3 separate regions of the Homo sapiens genome follow, and regions 1 and 3 are each linked to region 2. The links are contacts of gene promoters, found by promoter capture Hi-C in blood cells and fetal thymus (Javierre and others, 2016). All regions are on one chromosome and are shown on one strand. Each heading gives the region's core, a stretch centred on a gene start or on the middle of the fragment in contact. The rest is flanking DNA. Distances are from core to core; before and after follow the strand shown. Region 1 has its middle 44 kb from the start of TEX2. Region 2 holds the start of SNHG25 (small nucleolar RNA host gene 25). Region 3 overlaps SCN4A (sodium voltage-gated channel alpha subunit 4).

Region 1 (4,777 bases), core at 571-3,070, 160 kb before region 2:
AATTTTCACTTTGACAGGCCAAGGTGGGTGGATCACTTCAGCTCAGGAGTTTGAAACCAGCCTGGGCAACATGGCAAAACCCCGTCTCCACAAAAAATACAAAAATTAGCTGGGCATGGTGATGCATGCCTGTAGTCCCAGCTACTATGGAGACTTGGGAGGATCAATTGAGCCCAGGAGGTTGAGGCTATAGTGAGCCATGATCACGCCATTGTATGCCAGCCTGGGTGACAGAGCAAGACCCTGTTTCAAAAACAAAACACAAACAAAAAAGAAAGGTTTGAGCTAAGAACTTGCAGGAGACAAGGAAATTAGTCAAGCAGAAGGATATCTGGGGGAATGGCATGCGAGGCAGAAGGGAAAGCTAGGGTCGAGGCCCTCTGGGAAAGAAGCAAGGCCAAGGGGCTGGAGTAGAGGGAGGAAGAGGGGAAGTAGTGGAAGATGAGACTAGCTTTACTACTGATTATGATGTAAGAATAGTGGCCAATTTCCTTTCCAACTTGGGCCCGGCAGAATGGCTCCTGCAAAGAAGGGTGATGAGAAGAAGAAGGGTCATTCCGCCATCAACGAGATGGTGACCCGAGAATACCCCATCAACATTCATAAGTGCATTCATGGAGTGGGCTTCAAGAAGCGTTCCCCTCAGGCACTCAAAGAGCTCCGGAAACTTGCCCTGAAGGAGATGGGAACTCCAGATGCACACTTTGATACCAGGCTCAACAAAGCTGTCTGGGCCAAAGGAATAAGCAACGTCTCATACTGTATCCATGTTCGGTTGTCCAGAAAATGTAATGAAGATAAAGATTTACCAAACAAGCTCTATACTTCGGTTGCCTACGTACCTGTTACCACTTTAAAAAAATCTACAGTCGGTGTGAATGTGAACTAACTGCTAATCATCAAATATACCAAATAAAGTTATAAAATTGTTTTTTGTTTGTTTGTTTGTTTGTTTTTTGGGGGGGTGGGATAGAATCTTGCTCTGTCACCCAGGCTGGACCACAGTGGCGTGATTTTGGCTCACTGCAACCCCCACCTCCCGGGTTCAAGCAATTCTCCTACCTCAGCCTCCCTTGTAGCTGGGACTGCAGGCATGCACCACCATGCCCAGCTAATTTTGGTATCTTTAGTACAGATGGGGTTTCAGCACGTTGGCCAGGCTGGCCTCAAACTCCTGACCTCAAGTGATCTGTCCGCCTTGACCTCCTAAAGCGCTGGGATTAGAGGCATGAGCCACTGTGGGGGCCAAAATTGTTTAAATATATATATATATATATATATATATATATATATATATATATATATATATATATATAATAGTGGCCAGGCATGATGGCTCATGCCTGTAATCCCAGCACTTTGGGAGGTCAAGGCGCTTTGGGAGGGCAAGATGGGAGGATCCCTTGAGCCCAGGAGTTCGAGACCAGCCTGGGGAACATACAGAGATCCTGTCTCCAAAAAAATGTTTTAAATTAGCCAGGTGGAGTGGTGCATGCTTGTGATCCCAGCTACTCAGGAGGCTGAAGCAGGGGGATCACCTGAGCCTCAGGGGTCAAGGCTGCAGTGAGCCGTGATGGCTCCACTGCACTCCAGCCTGGGCAACAGAGTGAGATTTTGTCTCAAGAACAGAAGCCACTAATTGTAAATAGATTATAGTTCTTCATAGGCTTGTTCTAAACCCCTGCTACTCAAAGCGTGCTCTTCAAATCAGCAGCATCACAATCACTTGGCCATTGTTAGAAATGCAGAACCTTGGCCAGGACAACGGCTCATGCCTGTAATACCAGCACTTTGGGAGGCTGAGGTGGGAGGATCGCTTGAGCGCAGGAGTTTGAGGCTGCAGTCAGCCGTGATCACGCCACAGCACTCCAGCCTGGCTGGCAGAGTGAGACCCTGTCTCAAAAAAAAAAAAAAAGAAAGAATCTTGGGACCCATTACAGGTCTACGAAACTATAATCCTAATTAGCAAGATCCCCAGATTATGGAAAAGACACCACGTGCCTTTATAAATATATGGGCACTGCCAACATCATATGCTTTACCAAATAACAGCCTTAGTTGATTGAGACAAAACGAGTTTTCTTGCCTTAAGTTGCCCTTTCACAAGGGTTTTTGAGGACCAGGACCTACCAAGTGCGCCACCTGGTGGCAGCACAGATAAAATTTACACTCTAGGACCAAGATCACGTGTAGAATTCAAATAGCATAAAGTAATTATAGTTTTAACACAATTGGCTTGGACTTTTCAAAAATATCCATGTCAGAAAAGATCAAAATGGTCTGAAAAACTGCTCTAGATTAAAAGAGACCAAAGGGTCTGAACCGCTAAATGCAATCTGTTCAAAAAGCTATTCAAGGGCAGGCACGGTGGCTCATGTCTGTAATCCCAGCACTTTGGGAGGCCAAGGTGGGTGGATCACCTGAGGTCAGGAGTTTGAGACCAGTCTGACCAACATGGTGAAACCCTGTCTCTATTAAAAATACAAAAATTAGCCAGGCATGGTGACAGGCGCCTGTAATCCCAGCTACTCGGGAGACTAAGGCAGGAGAATTGCTTGAACCCAGGAGGCAGAGATTGCAGTGAGCCAAGATCGTGCCACTGCACTCTAGCCTGGGCAACAGAGCGAGACTCCATCTCAAAAAAAAAAAAAAAAAAAAAGCTAGTCAAGTACATAATTGGGCCAATTGGGAAAATTGAATATGGAATATATATCACAATATAGTATTAATGTTAAATTTCTTTCTTTCTTTTTTTTTGAAACAGTGTCTTGCTCTGTCATCCAGGCTGGAGTGCAGTGGCATGATGGTGGCTCACCGCAGCCTCAACCTCCTGGGCTCAAGCAATCTTTCCACCTCAGCCTCCGAGTAGCTGGGACCACAGGTGTGCGTCACCATGTCTGGCTAATTTTTTGTAAGTTTTGTACAGACAAAATTTCGCCATATTGCCCAGGCTGGTCTCAAACTCCTGGGTTCAAGTGATCCACCTGCCTCAGCCTCCCATAGTGCTGGGATTACAGGCATGAGCCACTGTGCTTAGCCTAATGTTAAATTTCTCAAGCATGGTAATATACTGTAATTATATAGAATGTCCTCATTCTTAGGGGATACATGGTGAAGTAATATTAGAAATATGATGCCTGCAACTAACTTTCAAAATATTTAGCAAACATTGAAATAATTTTTTTTTTTGAGAGGAAGTCTCACTCTGTTGCCCAGGCTGGAGTGCAGTGGTGTGTTCTCGGCTCACTGCAACGTCCGCCTCCTGGGTTCAAGCAATTCTCCTGCCTCAGCCTCCCGAGTAGCTGGGATTACAGGCGCGCACCACCATGCCTGGCTAAATTTGTATTTTTAGTAGAGACGGGGTTTCACCGTGTTGGTCAGGCTGGTCTTGAACTCCTGACCTCAAGTGATCCACCTGCCTCGGCCTCCCAAAGTGCTGGGATTATAGGCGTGAGCCATCGTGGCTGGCCAGAATAATTTTTTTGAGACAGGATCTCACTCTGTTGCCCAGGCTGGAGCACAGTGGTGAGATCTTGGCTCACTGCAATTTCAACCTCCCTGGCTCAAGTGATACTCCCACCTCAGCCTCCTGAGTAGCGGGTCCACAGGCACATACCACCATGCCTGGCTACTTTTTGTATTTTTTATAGAGACAGGGTTTCGCCCAGGCTGCCCAGGCTGGTCTCGAACTCCTGGCCTCAAGTGATCTGCCTACCTTGGGCTCCCAAAGTGTTGGAATTATAGCCATGAGCCACCACACCCAGCCAAAAATTAAAATAATTTTTAAAAAATGTTTGCGTGTGTGTGTGTATGTGTGTGTGTACAAACACAGAGGAGGAGAGATAAAGCAAATGGGCAAAATGCTAGCAACAAATGAATCTAGGTGAAGGATATACAAGTGTTCATTGTACTATTTCTTGTAACTTTTCTGAAAGCTTGAAATTTTCAAAATTAAAAAAAGGAGGCGGGCACAGTGGCTCACACCTGTGATCCCAACACTTTGGGAGGCTGAGGCAGGCGGATTACCTAAGGTCAGGAGTTGGAGACCAGCCTGGCCAACATGGTGAAACCCCATCTCTACTAAAAATACAAAAATTAGCAGAGTATGGTGGTGGGCACCTGTAATCCCAGCTACTCAAGAGGCTGAGGCATGAGAATCGCTTGAACCCAGGAGGCGGAGGTTGCAGTGAGCCGAGATCACACCACTGCACTCCAGCCTGGGCGACAGAGCAAGACTCAGTCTCAAAAAAAAAGAAGGGAGTATCACTTTTGGATACACTTTAAGTTGCAAGGAACTACTTAAGAAGGAGCCCTAGGATGTGTGGATCAGGCAGAAACAGCTGAAGTAAACTTGAATCCCAACTCAACGCTTATCTCTGTTTCTCTGGCTTATTGTTCTTGAGAGGTTAAAGATCAAACCTGTGAGTAGATAGAAAACTGAAGAGTTGATGTCCTACCTCTCTGGGCTGTGGAAGGAATGGAGGTGGGAAATCAGACACCTGTTTAAAAACAGAAAGGGCCGGGTGTGCTGGCATTTGCCTATAATCCCAGATGCTTGGGAGGCTGAGGCAGGACAATCACTGAGCCCAGGAGTTCAAGACCCTGTCTCAAATAAAAGGTAATTTTTTTTCTTTTTTTTTTTTTTTGAGAAGGAGTCTCGCACTGTCACACAGGCTGGAGTGCAGTGGCACGATTTCGGCTCACTGCAACCTCCGCCTCCTGGGTTCAAATGGTTCCCCTGCCTCAGCCTCCCGAGTAGCTAGGATTACAGGCTTGA
Region 2 (4,673 bases), core at 1,065-3,564:
CCTGGGGGCTAGCTAATCTTGAATGTTTTCCTGAGACAGGAGCGTATGTGAAAACATCAAACACTGCACATGACAGGATGGGTCCTCTCATACAGATGGGATGGGGTTAGAAAGCCAGAGCCAGTTTTTCCATCTGGCGTTTCCTGTGTCCTCCAGGTTTATATGGGAATCGAAACAGTTTGTTAATCTGATTGGGAGAGTTCCATGGGCAGATTTCCCTTCCTGAAGGCCAAAACGGAGAACTGCTCTCTTTAATTATTTCAAGAGTCAAGACCAAAAGTTTGCTCAGCATCACACTACATCTCAAAATTAATGTTGCCAACTTAATTTTGTGCATTTGTGTCAGAATGTTTAGTTTACAAGGTTGGGGGCTCTCTTTGCTTCGAGAAGTAAACCTAATACCATTTTTTTATTGTTTAAAGCTGCATTCAACGTCAAAATTACCTTGGGTAACTTTTGATAACTTACATGTGTGGACAAAGCTAATAGTGGTTTTTTAAACAGCACCTTGCCTGAACATGACTTTAAAGAAATTAATATATTGAAAACATGTTTGAACCCTTATTTTAATTGCACCATTAAAACATTTGACTTAAATTGTTTGACCATTCCAGTTGGTGTACTGTTCTGATTTTTCGTTGTGTAGGCCGATCTGCCTGTCAGAGTCCACGTGTCCTGGTCACTGGTCTTTATAATTGTTGTGCAATAACTAAAGGCTAAGGACTAGATGCACTATCGTGTAAAGAGATTACACATGACTGTACCATGTTGCACTTAATCAAATAGTATGTGGGGATTTAAAATCGCTTGCATTGTTTCACAAAATAAATATCTCAATGTCAAATACTAGATAAGCATCTAAGTCATTTCTACGGAATCCTGTTCAGATAGGGGCACAATAAAATGAGTACAGAGCACCGGGGCCCTCACCTGGCAATCGCAGCTTTCATTTACTGCGTTGATCACTGCCCAGTCCTAAGGCTACAAAGCCATCCTCACTACATCCTTCAAACTATGTGCCATTATCTTCAGCCCACATTTAAAGAATCCAGTGAAAGTTCGTAACTGAGGGGGTAGGGCAGTGGTGCTCCTGGGCTGCAGTTTACACCCTTCATTGTCTAGTATAATGTTAATTCGGGACACCTTCATTCATCGAATGTCCATGTAGTGAACGCATACGTGCATCCTTGCCCACCATTGCTGCCCTGTACTCAGAACTGATGCACCTTTCACTGGAGCCCTTGTGGAAGATCTTTTACCAATCACTGAATCTGGACTGTGTAACTAGGTGTCTATGTTGTCCCCAACCATATATAAAATCTAATTCACCTTCACAACCGCCCTATAATTTTGAACTGTTTAGGAGTGACAGATTAACCTGCCCAAAGCTTTAGTCCCATGCTTGTCAGTACTCCTGCATGGTTATTTGTAAACAGGTCGATTACCCTTTAGTCAGGAGTTAACTCAATGCAGTTCCACACCGAATCTGTTTATGTCAAGTACACAACAGCCCTGCAGACGCCATTCCACGCTGCCTTCAACTAAATCTGCGCGTCTGATGGCAGACGCGACAGCCTGGGACTTATGTCGAACTCACGGCGAAGGCACAGCGCGCGCGATACACTCAGGGAAGGCTGGGCTGGGGAACGTATGGGAGCAGAGGGGCACTCCTTACGCATCAAGAGTCCGCGTATCCCCGTCAGCCACCGCCCCCCTAACACGCCATTCCAGCCTTGGTATTACGGATTGAGGCCTGTCGTGGCAAAACAGCTGGAAAATTGCCCAGCCTAGCAGCCGGACAGTCAGGTTACTTCTTGTCGCTCGCGGTTAAAAAGGCCGCCCGCGGGAGGCCAGGCGGCCCCAGTTATGCGCAAGCACATGCTCTAGCGCTGCAGATTGACCCCCGGCGCCACGAGGAAGCTCGGCGGGGGCTCAAAGACAGCGCGTCGCCAACGACACACACCGACACCAGGGTTGGGTTCAAACCACTTTATTGACGGGAATGGGGTGGCAAAGCAGCAAGGACGATGACATCCGACGTCCTCGGCTGGGAGCTACAAGAACGAGAGTGATAGATCAGCGGGTGTGCGCGCGCCCGCCCGCCAGCCCCCTCCCAGCTCCGCTCGGGCAGGCTCAGACTCCAGTTCGCATCACCCGCGTCAGCAGTCTAACACGTGCTTTAATTGGAATGTCATCACAGCAGGCCGGCCCCCCTACGCCTCCCTGCTCCCGAGCCACGACCTCCGGGGCCCACCCAGCCAGACGACCCGCCAGGAATACAACCTGACCTCCCGGAACCTGCAGGCGCTGAAAGACAGGGGAGCGTCGATGGCGTTCTTTTAAAGGAGCAGACCAGCGCTGATGGGCGGGCTTTACTGCCATTAACCAATAGCAAGTTCACCTTGCGACCACGTGCGCGTAAAGTTGTCTGGTGACTGGTAGTCCTTGCTGAGTCCTCCAGAGGATAGATGGGTCACATACCAACCATAGAGATGGGAGTCGCTCAGTCTCAAATCCATTTGCGTTTCAGCGACTCCACCGCCAGCTGGTAATGAGCGCATCTCTCCGCAGTACGCAAAAGAAAACTTCACCAAGAGCAGGCGACGATGATGCCTAACTTGGATGACATGTTCTGTGCCAGGAGCTAGGATAGGAGTTGAGAATGGAAAGTTAAAAACTGTCCCCAAGTGCAAAATAACCTGTCGTGGTAGAAAGAGCTTGTATTGAAAATGGACCGATCTGCACCACATCCTGACTTTGTGATGCGTTCGCTCTGTGACCTTGCTCAGTTAACCTTTCTGAGATTCAGTTTCTGGAAATTAGGAATACCCCCCCGCCGCCCCCCCCCAACACACACACACCGCGAAAAAAAAAAATTGTAAGGATTCGGTGAATTAATGCCAATTGCCTGGCACATTCTAAGTGGTAAACAAAGGTATTTAAAGGGCAGAGTGATGTGAAAAACTTCCTGGGATTGCAAAACTTTAATAAATACTAACATAGCGCTATGAACAGCCTACTGTAGAAGCCCAAAGGACAGAAAGCCTGACTTTGGGAAAGCTTCGCAGAGTTGATTGAGCCTGTTCCCCGGACATACAGGTGGATGAATGATAGTTTGCTTAACTGGGGGAGGACACAGTACACCAGCAGTCACAGTCGCCGGTTATCTTTATTGCCTCCCTGTTTTCCTTGGGAATTCTTTTCCTTTTTTTCCTCTTAATACGGAAAATTTATTGTTTTGTGTGTGTGTGTGTATGTGACAGTGAAATCATTTCACCCTATGGGTTTGTAGTTGAATGGGCTCTTATTTTCCTTATTTTCTATATAGACTTTAAATTCAAAAAATTCCTCTTTGGCCGGGCGCGGTGGCTCACGCCTGTAATCCCAGCACTCTGGGAGACGGAGGCGGATGGATCAGGTCAGGAGTTCAAGAACAGCCTGGCCAACATGGCGAAACCCTGTCTCTACTAAAAATACAAAAATTAGCCGGGCGTGGTGGCAGGCCCCTGTAATCCCAGCTACTCAGGAGGTTGAGGCAGGAGAATCGCTTGAACCCGGGAGGCGGAGGTTGCAATGAGCTGAGATCGCGCCATTACACTCTAACCTGAGCAACAGAGCGAGACTCCATCTCAAAAAAAAAAAAAAAAACCTCTTTAATCCAAAGCAATAATGACTTTGACAAGTGTTTAGTAGTCTCTATTTATTTTTGTTGCTGTTTTAACTTTCGTTATCTCAACATTTATTACATTATGGTACAGTTTCCGCATTGGGCAATGTATGAAAGTTTTCTTTGTGACCTAAAATATCAGTTTTTATAAGTGTTCCACAGATTGTTGAAACGAAGATGTTTTCACTATCAAGTACAAACATGGTATAAAATATTTATTTATTAATTCAACCTTAGTTGTGTTGTAATTACATTGTCCACAGCTCTGCTTTGTGTATTATGTACTTGCTTGGAAGTTGGCTGTTGGCTTTGATTGTGATGTGTTAAGATTATGCCTCAAATACCAAATGCCAGTGAGGATGTGGAGCAACAGAAGCTTTGCTCCATTACTTGTTTCGTTTTGTTTTTTGAGACAGTCTCACTCTGTTGCCCAGGCTGGAGTGCGGTGGCACAATCTTGGCTTACTGCAACCTCCGCCTCCCGACTTCAAGCAATTCTCCTGCGTCAGCCTCCCCAGTAGCTGGAATTACAGGCATGCACAACCATGCCTGGCTAATTTTTGTATTTTTAGTAGAGATGGGGTTTTACCATATTGGCCAGGCTGGTCTCAAACTCCTGACCTCATGATCCTCCCGCCTCAGCGTCCCAAAGTGCTGGGATTACAGGCGTGAGCCGCCGCGCCCGGCCTGCTCTTTTCTTTTCTTCTCCTCTTCTCTTTTCTTTTCTTTTCTTTTTTGAGACAGAGTCTGGCTCTGTCGCCCAGGCTGGAGTACAGTGGCACTATCTTGGCTCACTGCAACCTCTGCCACCCGGGTTCAAGCGACTCTGCTGCCTCAGCCTCCCTAGTGCTGGGACTACAGGCACGGACCACCATGCCCGGCTAATTTTTGTATTTTTAGTAGAGACGGGGTTTCACCATGTTGGCCAGGCTGGTCTTGAACTCCTGACCTCAAGTGATCCACCCGCCTCAGCCTCCCAAAGTGCTGGGATTACAGGCATGAGCCAC
Region 3 (4,540 bases), core at 1,471-3,970, 190 kb after region 2:
AAAAGCCTCTAGGGGACATGGCGGGGAGGAAGGGAGCCATGGAAATTCCCCTAGCACATTCTCTCAAAGAGCGTTTTCAGATAGTTTTTAAAGAGAGTATTTAACATGATTAACAGAATATAATCAACAGAATGTAGTGAAGACAATGACGAGAAGACCTTGGAGGAGGCTGGTGAGAGCCAGGAGTGAGACCCGCCGAGGAGACGGCCAAGGGTGGCGGATCTGCAAGTGCAGGCTCCCCAATTCCCCATGCCCTCTCACTCCCCCAGGGCTCCGAGGAAGAACCTGGCTATGCTTCTGGCTGATGGGAGCTGGGACCCTCACCCCAGCCAGGATTCTCCTTCCTCCCACTGCCCAGGGCCAGGCAGACTGGTAGAAGGAAGGGTGACCACATTAAAGACCTTCAGGGCTGCCATTCACCTTGTAGGCTAAGTGAAAGATGCCTTCTAAAGTTATACAATGACTAGAATCCTGGTTCGAGTCCTGGCTATGCTCTGTGTCCTAGAGCAGGCCACGCCACCTCTCTAGGACTCAGTTTACTCATCTATAAAATGCTGAGCTGGCCTCAGAGTTCACCACACTCTTCCTACACCTTGTATAACTTTCTTTCTTTCTTTCTTTTTCTTTTTCTTTTTTTTTTTTTCTTCAAGGCAGGGTCTCGCACTGTCACCCAGGCTGGAGTGCAGTGGGTGCAATCTGGGCTCACTGCAACCTCCGCCTCCCGGGTTCAAGTGATTCTCCTGCCTCAGCCTCCCAAGTAGCTGGGATTATAGGTGCACCACCACGCCCAGCTAATTTTTGTATTTTTAGTACATGGTTTCACCATGTTGGCCAGGCTGGAGCACCTTGTATAGCTTTCTATTATTTCAAACATAATAACAGCCAACATGCGTTGAGTGCCTACTGTGTGCTCTACTTGTATTGATGGGTTTTTTGTTTGTTTTTTGTTTTTTTGTTTTGTTTTGTTTTGAGATGGAGTCTCGCTCTGTCGCCCCGGCTGGAGTGCAATGGCGTGATCTCGACTCACTGCAACCTCCACCTCCCGGGTTCAAGCGATTCTCCTGCCTCAGCCTCCCAAGTAGTTAGGACTACAGGCGCATGCCACCACGCCCAGCTAACTTTTTGTATTTTTAGTAGAGACGGGGTTTCACCATGTTAGCCAGGATTGTCTTGATCTCCTGACCTCGTGATCCGCCTGCCCCAGCCTCCCAAAGTGCTGGGATTATAGGTGTGAGCCACTGCGCCTGGGCTTTTATTGATCCTTTAATCCTCACAACAATGGGAGGAACACTTGGATAATCTCCTTTTTACAGATGAGGAAACTGAGGCACAGGGCAGTGAGGCAAATTGCCTCAGAGCACACAGCTAATAAACTGGGGTTCAGAGCCCTGCAATGTGGTTTCAAAAGCTGTGCACTCCAGTCTCTGCTGCCACCCAAACCCACAGTATTGCATGTGATTGATCTGCTCTCTGTCTCTGCTGGTCTGTGAGCTCCCTGAGGCCATTCATGCAGTGACGGGGGCTCAGGAAATGTCTATCCACTGGAAAATAAAGTGGGTGGGGGTGCTGGGGGGGAGCAGCAGTAGCCTCCTAAGTCTTTCCGTAGGGATGTGGGACAAGAACCAGAATAGATGGAGTCGGAAACCCCAAGAGGAGAAAAGAGGGTAAATAGTAGGTCAGATGTCCCTTCCAGAGTAGCAGGGGCCAAGCTTCTGCACTCCAGGAGTGCGGGGTCTATAAAGTCCCACTTAACAGAGGTGGAGAAGAAGGCACAAAAGATAAAGGTTCCCAGTAAGTCCTGGAAGCTCGGCGACTTGAGCCCAGTTCTTTGTTCCGCATCCTCCAGAAGTGGAGGTAAAGGACAGTCATGGGCCAGGCACCGTGGTGATGCCTCTAATCCCAGCACTTTGGGAGGCCGAGGCAGGCGGATCACTTGAGGTCAGGAGTTTGAGACCAGCCTGGGCAACATGTTGAAACCCCGTCTCTACAAAAAATACAAAGATTAGCTGGGCATGGTGGCACTTGAACTTGGGAGGTGGAGGTTGCCGTGAGCCGAAATCGCGCCACAGCACTCCAGCCCGGAGTCTGGAGGCAACAGAGGGAGACTCCTCCATCTCGAAAAAAAAAAAAGAAAAAAAAGGACAGTCATGGAGAGAGTTCCTGTCCCCCAGCAGGCCTCCCTAAACCCTGCCTCTGCCCTGGGTAGCAGAGTCCTCTCAGAAGCCCAAGCCTCAGTTTCCCCATCTGCAGAAGGGATAATAACCATCACCTCCATGAGCAGTTGTGAACACCTCTTAGGTGGCGTTCTTTTAAATGCCCAACATGTGGTAGTTTGGATCTGTAGACCGAGGACCCCTGTGCTGGCTGAAGGTGGCACCCTCTGGGTCCCGGGGACTGATGTGAGGCTCCCCCTGACCCCATGCCCCAGGTCCTGAACCTGTTCCTGGCTCTGCTGCTGAGCTCCTTCAGCGCCGACAGTCTGGCAGCCTCGGATGAGGATGGCGAGATGAACAACCTGCAGATTGCCATCGGGCGCATCAAGTTGGGCATCGGCTTTGCCAAGGCCTTCCTCCTGGGGCTGCTGCATGGCAAGATCCTGAGCCCCAAGGACATCATGCTCAGCCTCGGGGAGGCTGACGGGGCCGGGGAGGCTGGAGAGGCGGGGGAGACTGCCCCCGAGGATGAGAAGAAGGAGCCGCCCGAGGAGGACCTGAAGAAGGACAATCACATCCTGAACCACATGGGCCTGGCTGACGGCCCCCCATCCAGCCTCGAGCTGGACCACCTTAACTTCATCAACAACCCCTACCTGACCATACAGGTGCCCATCGCCTCCGAGGAGTCCGACCTGGAGATGCCCACCGAGGAGGAAACCGACACTTTCTCAGAGCCTGAGGATAGCAAGGTGAGCCGGGGCTGGGGCTCAGACAGACCCGGCTTCAAATTCTCCTGTGACCTGGAGCAAGCCCTAAGTCCTCTCTGAGCCTCAGTTTCTCCAGCTGTAAAATGGGGGTGGTGCCCTATGGCATTGTTGCAAGCATTATGTGAGACGCTGTATGTAAAGCATGCAGTCCGCGCCCTGTGAGTGGTGGCAGTCACTATCGTTATTGATGTGGTTATTATGATCAACCCTGTCTGTCCAGAAACCCTGATTCCCTCGGACCAGAACACCTGGGCCCCTCTCACCAGCAGGTGGTGCCCTTGGACATGCTGCTTTTACCTGGGCACCGCAGCTCCAGGACCAGGACCTGAGAGGCCTCTCTTACATATTCTCCTCTGGGTTTGAGGCCCCTTGCCCAGTCCTCACACTTATCCTCTATCTCTGTTTAGACCCCACCTGGGTCTGCTCCCAACCTCCCAGTGTGGGCCAAAGTGCCAGATCCAGGCAGGGGATTCAGGAGAGGAGCTAGGGGCCAACGGGAGTTGAGGACAAGGAGGACAGAAGCCTCAGGCAGGAGCCCTGACCCCTCAGCCATGCAGGGGGTGTGCTGCTGGGCTCAGATGCCCCTCCCCACCCCTCCACTGCGAGGTCGAGGAAGGGACAGGAACGCAGCGGTGGTAACCCCCAGCAGCTGAGGCTGAGGCTGAGGCTGACCCTGCCTGGGTCTTGAGCCCCCTTCCCCACTGTCCAGCTCTGGCAGGGAAAGGACTCATACAGGAGCTAGGACGAGGGCCCCTGCCCACCCCTGCACCATCAGCCTGAGCCTAATGAACTTTGCCCTGAAAGCTTTTGACTCCTTATTCCCCCCAAATATGCTGGCTTACCAGGAAGCGAGTGCCTGTGAGCTATAAATACCCAGGCAACTGTGGCACAGACCTCGGTATGAGGCACTCAGGTGGCGGGGGAGCTGGAGAGCACCAAAGTCCCAGGCTCCCCGGGGCCGGGGCCGGGGCCTGGGGACTTGTTCAAGGAGGGCGAGCACAACTCCAAGGGAGATTTAGGGAGTTGAGTGCACAATCGGGGCAAGCAACTCAGTGGATGCCCTGGCTGACCTAACACTCTGTGCCTCAGTTTCCCTTTTAGTCTAATGAAAACAAGGACCCCCACCCCGGCCATGGTGGTTTTCTGGTCACCACTCTGGATACAGAGCTGCCCCCCAAGTTGCCCTCTTCTTCCTTCTCTTCAGAGGCCTCACCCTCAGCCTTGAAGGGGTCCCCTGCCGGGTGGAGTCTGGGGCCGGGAAGCTGGCCTGGCCCAGCAGGAGGAGGTGGGAGGAAGCCTGGCCCGGCTGGAGCACCCGCCTCCCCCACTCCCGCTCCCAACACTGATCAGGTTCCCTTGGCACTGGATGGAGGCTTTGGCTGGGGAACATTTTCCACCCTTTCTGGATTCCTCAGCCAAACAGACCCTGCGGGTGGGAAGGCTCAGACGCTAGGGGCACCACACGCCCATGTTCTGAGGGCTGTGATAGCCTGGCTCCATCCTGACCCCTTTTCATACCCCTGCCCCCTCAGAGCTACCTTCAGGCCCCCCATGCCTCCCAGACCCCCCACTCGGGCCGGGGTCCCCGCCTCCTCCCTTATCTGAGGCCTTCGCATG

The links. The method cuts DNA at HindIII sites, captures the fragments that hold promoters and counts their contacts. A CHiCAGO score of 5 or more calls a contact.
Region 1: a fragment that was not itself captured here is called in contact with the fragment with the promoter of SNHG25 in region 2 in 7 of 17 cell types (endothelial precursors, megakaryocytes, M2 macrophages and 4 more); the score reaches 11.4 in endothelial precursors.
Region 3: a fragment that was not itself captured here is called in contact with the fragment with the promoter of SNHG25 in region 2 in 12 of 17 cell types (total B cells, naive CD8 T cells, naive CD4 T cells and 9 more); the score reaches 9.6 in total B cells.

The regions. Positions count from the first base shown.
Region 1 is chr17:64,304,428-64,309,204 of GRCh38, reverse strand. It overlaps the pseudogene RPL31P57. Among named protein-coding and RNA genes, the nearest start is that of TEX2, 44 kb to the right of the region's middle. The HindIII fragment of the contact is 4,234 bases long and covers 1-3,937 here.
Region 2 is chr17:64,143,611-64,148,283 of GRCh38, reverse strand. SNHG25 (small nucleolar RNA host gene 25) reads right to left here and starts at 2,314. Exons shown (of 2, transcript NR_132278.1): 1 at 2,284-2,314; 2 at 1,975-2,054. SNORD104 (small nucleolar RNA, C/D box 104) reads right to left here and starts at 2,206; the gene lies at 2,127-2,206. It overlaps SNORA50C (small nucleolar RNA, H/ACA box 50C), which reads right to left and starts at 1,945; the gene lies at 1,813-1,945. It overlaps TEX2 (testis expressed 2), which reads left to right. Exons shown (of 12, transcript NM_001288732.2): 12 at 1-1,057. RefSeq lists enhancers at 1,886-2,095, 2,073-2,627. The HindIII fragment of the contact is 1,672 bases long and covers 1,391-3,062 here.
Region 3 is chr17:63,949,789-63,954,328 of GRCh38, reverse strand. SCN4A (sodium voltage-gated channel alpha subunit 4) reads left to right here. Exons shown (of 24, transcript NM_000334.4): 14 at 2,429-2,905. Among named protein-coding and RNA genes, the nearest start is that of CD79B, 20 kb to the right of the region's middle. RefSeq lists a silencer at 3,046-3,340, enhancers at 3,308-3,367, 4,469-4,540 and an insulator at 2,477-4,540. The HindIII fragment of the contact is 2,018 bases long and covers 1,712-3,729 here.